2 separate regions of the Homo sapiens genome follow, and region 1 is linked to region 2. The links are contacts of gene promoters, found by promoter capture Hi-C in blood cells and fetal thymus (Javierre and others, 2016). All regions are on one chromosome and are shown on one strand. Each heading gives the region's core, a stretch centred on a gene start or on the middle of the fragment in contact. The rest is flanking DNA. Distances are from core to core; before and after follow the strand shown.

The links. Contacts are between HindIII fragments. The CHiCAGO score rates a contact against its expected background, and 5 or more counts as called.
Region 1: a contact is called between a fragment that was not itself captured here and the fragment with the promoter of MYBL1 in region 2, in 2 of 17 cell types (M0 macrophages and monocytes). The highest score is 6.1, in M0 macrophages.

The regions. Positions count from the first base shown.
Region 1 is chr8:66,099,795-66,103,241 of GRCh38, forward strand. DNAJC5B (DnaJ heat shock protein family (Hsp40) member C5 beta) reads left to right here. Exons shown (of 6, transcript NM_033105.6): 6 at 143-1,451. The coding sequence ends at 237. Among named protein-coding and RNA genes, the nearest start is that of TRY-GTA5-1, 12 kb to the right of the region's middle. The HindIII fragment of the contact is 873 bases long and covers 1,536-2,408 here.
Region 2 is chr8:66,611,367-66,614,870 of GRCh38, forward strand. It overlaps MYBL1 (MYB proto-oncogene like 1), which reads right to left and starts at 1,852. Exons shown (of 16, transcript NM_001080416.4): 1 at 1,453-1,852. The coding sequence starts at 1,472. LOC105375884 (a long non-coding RNA gene) reads left to right here and starts at 2,183. Exons shown (of 2, transcript XR_929015.3): 1 at 2,183-2,286; 2 at 2,679-3,504. RefSeq lists a silencer at 1,619-2,138 and enhancers at 2,369-2,508, 2,559-2,638, 2,649-2,698. The HindIII fragment of the contact is 2,770 bases long and covers 329-3,098 here.

The DNA.
Region 1 (3,447 bases), core at 722-3,221, 510 kb before region 2:
CTTAAAATGGTAGGTATATTGATATCTTATGAATTGAGTTGATTTGCCAGTCATGAATTCAACAAAAATACCTATCACTTGCTTCATTAAAAGAACTGTAACATGATGAGAGTGTTTATTGCTTTGCTTTGTTTATTTTTAGATGTGGACTTTCCAGTTTTTCTCCAGCCTACAAATGCAAATGAGAAAACACAGCTAATCAAAGAAGGATCTCGAAGTTATTGCACAGACTCTTGATATTGAGCCCTCAGAGAGTCCACAGTCCCTCCTCTCAGTTCAGTCTTGTCTCCAGATGGTCGTAGGGGAGCGTGTGGGGCATAAAGTGCTGTGAACTTTTCCATCTTGTTGTTTTATTTTTGGGTTAGGAAAACATGATTGCTATATAATTTTCTCAGTATGCAGACTTTCTCTCTGAGTAGAATTTCTTATGAAACACATTCAATTTGGGTGAATAAAGGCCTGAAGAGTTATTTTACCCTCCTTGCCTGATGTAGGACAGTGGAATTGTACAGCCTTTATGAACCTGCCCTTTATGTGTGGCAGATCTGATTCCTAACTGACCAAAGTAATATTCCAGAACAAAAGCCACTTTTCTTACATTTAACACAATATTCATATCTACCACGAACATGATCATCAAAATATATGAGAACTTATAAAGAGTTTTTGTGTGTGGAGCCTCTTCCGTGTCAATATTCAATAAAGTTATAGAAATGTTTCAAGAGCCAGAAAGGGATGATTTTTTTTTAAATCACATTTTTAAGGTATATTTTTGGAACATTAAAAATTGGCATTTACTGAAAACTGGAAACCAGGAAGAAACAGGTTTTGTGTGTACTTTTAGATTGGCTTAAAAACAAAACAAAACAAAACTTCAACCTGGTTAAATGTTGTAAGTGAACCAGAAAATCATTCTGAGCCTGAACCCGCCCCATCAGCATGTTGATCATTTTCTAGTAAAATAATTTTTGTATAACTGGCTCAGATTAGCCAGACTAAGGGAAAAAAAACAGATGAAGGGGTAGAACTCTATACTCTAGAGCCTAAATTTACACCAAAACATGTATCACCTCATTTTTGTTAAAATTAGTTGCCTTGACCAGAAATTGCTCAGCTCTGTGCATGTTACACAATTTAAGCCCAGAGGTCATCTCTGCATTTGCTTGTTTGATTCTTGTATTTATTATGTGGTAGAAACCATGTGCTATTTCTAAAATACTATGGCAGAAAAAGTGTTCGTTTTTCTAGCTCTTTCTTACTTTTTTATATAATATTGCATTTTCAAGATCTTGTTATGTTTTTATATAATATTGTATAAAATGCCTTTATCTTTTTTCTTGTTTCTTATTCCCACCCAAAAAATTATAGTTAATTGCTGCTAAATATATATTGTAAGTGAGAATTAGTGTTATAGCTCTGATAGTTCTGAGGTCATTAAAATTCCACTCTAACTCTTTAGTTACTGAAATTCTTTTTCTAGGCAATCAAGTAGACAGAGCCTTGGTTTGAAAGCTAAGAAACCTGGTTCTAATCTAAGCTTTCATTAACTAGCCTTGTGACCAAGTGAGATGAAAATAACATGGCTAATCTCTCTATGGCTCTGTTTTCATATCTGCCCTGACCACCTTCCAAGTTGCTGGATGACCAGATAAAATGGCTGAAGTGAAAGAAATCTGAAAAGTCAAATGTTCAACAAATGTAAGGTGGTTTTAAATGAATTTGTATATGTTGACGCACACAGACAAATGTACTATGACTCTTGATGCATATAAACTCTCTCACCCAACAAGACCCATGGAGACACCCAGTATTAACAGCTCCAGTAACCAGCAAGTGCTTGGAACGCTGTATTCAACAAACAAATGCTACTTTCCATTTGGAGGAAACAATAGGATAAATAGCGCAATCTGTGGATAATTTGAGCCATTCCATTTCCTTCCTGTGGCCTTTTTAAGCAAAAGGTCAGGTCTATTTTGAAAAGCAACTTACAAATTACAAAGCTCACCTTCTCTTTCTTGCCCAGACCTCATTTTCCTTTCTCACATGGAATTTTTTGCTTCCACTCCTAGTTCCCCAGGAAGCTGGTCCAAGAGTGGTTAAGATGAGAACAGGACATGGATCAGAATCAGAATCAGATGGTAGAATCAAATTGCTAGAGGGGTTCTGGCCAATGTTCCTCACAAAGGGCTAGTTTCTGGTTACAATGATGTGTGACAAATGCAAACACTTGAATACCTATGAATGAGGGAATGAATTCTGCAGAATACTCCTTCAGCTACAGAGATACAAGAATCCACTCTTCATCAGAGGAGGAGCTGCTGAAGTATATTGTGGGGGTCTACAGAAGTGCTATCCAAGAAGCACTGGCAGTCATTCTGAACCCACAAGAAGTCTTCCCTTAGCAGGGAAGCTTCAAGGCAAGAAGAGAAATGCTGAGCGTGAGCCTCATCAGTGGTCACACAGAGTCCAATGAACAGCCCGTGTCAACAGCTCACCACCTCTCCTGGGCACTGTGCTACTGGAATAGGAGACTTCTTAAAAAGTTCCATGAGTCATCCATTTATTTTTTTGCTGTCTTACAGTAGAACATAATAAAAAAATACATGTGCATTTTTCTTTACCAAAACACACACACACACACATATATATCTCAATTCTTTTAGAATAAGCGACATTCTATATCTAGAATGAAAAAACTGTCTATACATTAATTAACTTATTATTATTATTTTTTTGAGACAGAGTCTCACTGCAATCTCTGCCTCCTGGGTTCAAGCAATTCTTGTGCCTCAGTCTCCCGAGTAGCTGAGACTACAGTCACGTGCCACCACACCCAGCTAATTTTTGTATTTTTAGTAGAGACAGGGTTTCACCATGTTGGCCAGGCTGATCTCGAACTCCTGACCTCAGGTGATCTACCCGCCTAGGCTTCCCAAAGTGCTGGGATTACAGGTGTGAACAACCGTGCCCGGCTACATTGATTAACTTATTAGCATAATAGTTTTATATAAAATGCCTTCATTTCAAAAAAGTTTTTATTGTATTTGGCATGGAAATTATTTTTTTAAATCAATGTGTAACATACTAGAAAATCAGCTACCAAAACTTGAAAGATACATGTTATTCTGAGTCAAAGGGTAAAGTTTTAACAAAATAAAATGAGTTACCTTCCTACTCACATTCTGCATTTCTTAGCTCTCTCTTTTACCTCTTCCCTTAGCATCCCATCCCCCAAAATAGAGGATTTGAAAGTGTTGGCCTTAGGCTCATAAGTGCATTTACTTGTATTTGAGAAAGATGATTTATTCTTTCACAAATTAAAAATAAAATTTCTAAGAGAATAATAACCAAGAGTCGTAGTGCTTAGTACCTGACACTGCCCTAAGAGCTTTATATTGATTCATTTAATACAACAACCTGTGAGAGAAGTACTGTCACCATCATCAT
Region 2 (3,504 bases), core at 602-3,101:
AAGAGCTTTAAATATCTATCTTTTCTGAAGATTGATGTTAATTGGGTCCTTGAAGTTCTAGAAGGGTGGTTCTTTCCTGGGTGATTTTGTCCCCCAAAAGATATTTGGCAATGTCTGGAGACATTTTTACTGTCATGACTGAGGGAAGTGGAGTGTTACTATCTCTACTGGGTAGAAGCCAGCGATGCTGCTAAACATCTCCCCATTACAAAGAATTATCTGGTCCAAGATGTCAATAGTGCAAAGGCTGAAAACAGTTTTAGAGGGGTCTGTGTACACATTTATTTCATCTCAAGAGTTTGTCCTATAACTTACTTCAAAACTAATAAGCTTACAGAGACTTAAGGATTTCTGCAGAAGCATCCTGCACACAGCAGATGCTTAACAGAAAACTAAGGAAAAAACAATTATGTATAGTTACTGCCAATTTTTAGCAGAACTCTGCAATGAATGACCCCCATTACTAAATTTCAACTTAGGAAATACATCTCTAGTTAAGATTTTGGGGCTGTGGATCTAGATAAATAAATATTTGGAAATCCTGCCAAACATCTTTTCAGGTTTATTTGATAATGCTGAAAATCGGAAGACATCCTATATTTTTGTTATCTAAGCAATTACTCCACATAATTTATGAGTAGCTGCTGTAATGGCATGTAAACGAAAATTAGATGCATAAATTCATCCTAGCACATTTTCCAGGCAAAGGTGGAAAAAAGTGCCTTACCTCTGTGGAACACTTAGGTACGGTCAGAGCCAAACACAGACACTCAAAATATTAAGTGAATCAAACACATTGTTTTATTTCAAGATCAAGCTACTAGTTGTTACTACTAGTTGTTACTATGTGACATGGTCCCAAGAGAGGATATTAAAATATACATATATACATAAAGCTGAGCATATGGGTATAGGAATTACAGAAAACATCAAAAAAGTCCTCTCAGCTATTCCCCAGAGGATTTTCCACAACGTTTCAAGATAGCCAAGTTGGCAGAGGGGTGGCCGCCCAGGTTCACCGCGGAGTTCCTATTTTGACTGTACCGTCATTCAGAAAAGAGTCGCCCGAACACCATTTTCAAGTCCTCCCGGCAGGACACAGTCAGTTTTCTCTGCGTAGCGGACTCCCTAAAAGCGCTCGACTTACCTGGCAAGAAACCTGCCTCGAAGAAGTGGCAGCATGAGGTCAGAAATCTGGACGCGCATTACGGGGAGAGTCACCGAGAAACCTGGGCATCTCTTACGTCCCGCGCCTCAAACACCCTGGTCCCCAACTCTCCACACGTCGCAGCTGCCCTCCGGTCATCGAGGCCAAGCGGCCGCGGGGACGCGGGAAGAAAAACCTCTGCCCTCGCCAGGGAGGGCCTTATGGCGGGAGGGGGCAGCGGGATAGGAAAGAGAATCTGAGCCGAGACGGCGCCGACAGGCCTGGGCGAAAGGGGTGCCACCCACCTGCGCGACCTCTTCGCCATCCTTCAAGTACCGCATAGGAGCAGGCTGGGCGGGGACGCGGGTCAGCCTCCTCCAGCCTCCGGCGAATGCTCCTTCTCCCCGATCCTCTAGCCGCTTCCCTCGCTCCCTCTGGAGGCGGCCGAGTGCGGAACGCACGTCCTCGACAGGGCAGGACGGAGGGACAGCGGGGGCGGACCGCGACCCGACCCCGACCCCGGCCCGCAGCGCCGCTCTTAGCCCCGGCCCGGCCCGGCCAGGGATACCCCCAACATGTCAGGAGGCGCGATCCCGCCCTCCGCCGGCTTCTCCCGCCGCTTGTCAGCCTCCCTGCCCTGGCCCCAGCCCGGCTCCGCCACAGGCGCCCGACCCCTGCCCTCTCCCCCGCAGCTAGCAGTTCTGCAGGGCTCGCAGTCTCCTGCAGGGTTTTGTCCGCACCGCCGAATCTCGCGCCCAGCCTCCCTCAAGAGCCGCCGTTTGAATCTGCGCACGCGGCCCTGAACCTCATTGGCTGTGGGGGCCGCACGCGAAGAAGCGAGGGCGGGGAGGGGAGAGCGCGCGCGGCTGAGGGCGGGGCTGGGGAGCTGGAAGCTGGGACTGGAACTCGCGGGAGTCGGGGAAGGAGCCGGGAGCCAGGGGGTGGGGCCGCGGGTGGGGCCGTAGGTGGCGCATGCGAGCCGAGCTGTCATAGGACCCGGAACGCGCCGAGAGGCGCACCGCGCGGGGCCTGCTGGGAGAGCGAGTTCCTGCGCTCGCCGAGGAGTGGGTCCGGAAGCGGCGCCGGAGCGGGTCCGGAAGCGGGCGGTGGAGAAGTCCAGTTGCCCCAAAATTCTTAGGGTGAGCGAACCGAGTTTCTGGCGGGGTGGGTGGTCCCGCGGCCCACCAAGGGAACGTCTCCGCAGCCTCGCCTCGGCGACAGCTCCTGGCTCCTTAGGTGTCTTCCGCCTCACTAGTTAGGATGCGCGGTCTTCAGACTTGAGACAAATCTAACCATAAATTTGCGCGGCCGTTATTTTTTAAGCAAAAATGTGAGCTATTTTTACCCAGACATCATAGTTACGAGAGTGACGAAGACTCTGGCAGGAAACCAAATATCACCTGTTTTCCTCAAAAAGCAGCAGAAGAGTGACAAGTGAAAAAAGTTCCTAGCGGGAGACGTGCTTGGAACCGGAGATAATCTGTGTCTACCGCTGGTCTTCAAGGTGCTTAATTTCGTGCCCGCTCTACAGGAAATAACGTGCGCGGCGGAGGAGCCCTGTCCTGGAGAATAACGCGTGAAGAAGACAGTGGACTGGGCATTTCGTCCAGATGAATGAGCATGGTAGTTAAGTGTAGAAGGTGACCTTCTTCCCTCTGGAGAGACCAGGGAGGGGGGAACCACCGGAGGAGTTTCTAGCGGTTGCAGCTACTTGAGGTTCCAGTCTAATAACTACGAACTGTTCATTTCAAGTAGCATTAAAGTAGATTTGCTACAGTAACAATTACACTTGGCTAAGGAAAATTTGCAAGGCAACATGGTCTATTGCATAGAGCACTGAGCCACATGTTAACACTGTAACAAACACTTGCTATTTTGAAATTTTACGCTTCATCTTTTGCAAATCAGATGCAGGTGCAGAGTGAATTAAGAGGAGCTGAATTAAGAGAGAAGCTTGCATGCACTGCTGTCAAAACCTAAACACACTGGCTTTTTTTTTTTTAACAGTTCCTTTTTTCAAGGTATAGATTCTGGGAAGGTAAGGGAAGATAAAACAGCTTTTCTTTTTCTCTCCTGTTTTTTTTTTTGTTGTTTTTTTTTTGAGACTAGGTCTCACTCTATTCCCCATGCTGGAGTGCAGTGGCACAATCATAGCTTACAGTAGCCTCGAACAGCGATCCTCTTGCCTCAGCCTCCAAAGTAGCTGGGACTACAGGCGCGCGCCACAACACCTGGCCAAGCGTTTCTTCCAGATCATTCCTTACTGGGTTGCTGGTTCAGTAAAAATAAAAAAATAAAAAATAATTTAGAAATGAGTTCCCAAATTTCATTATGTTCCCAATGTCATTTGGAATCAC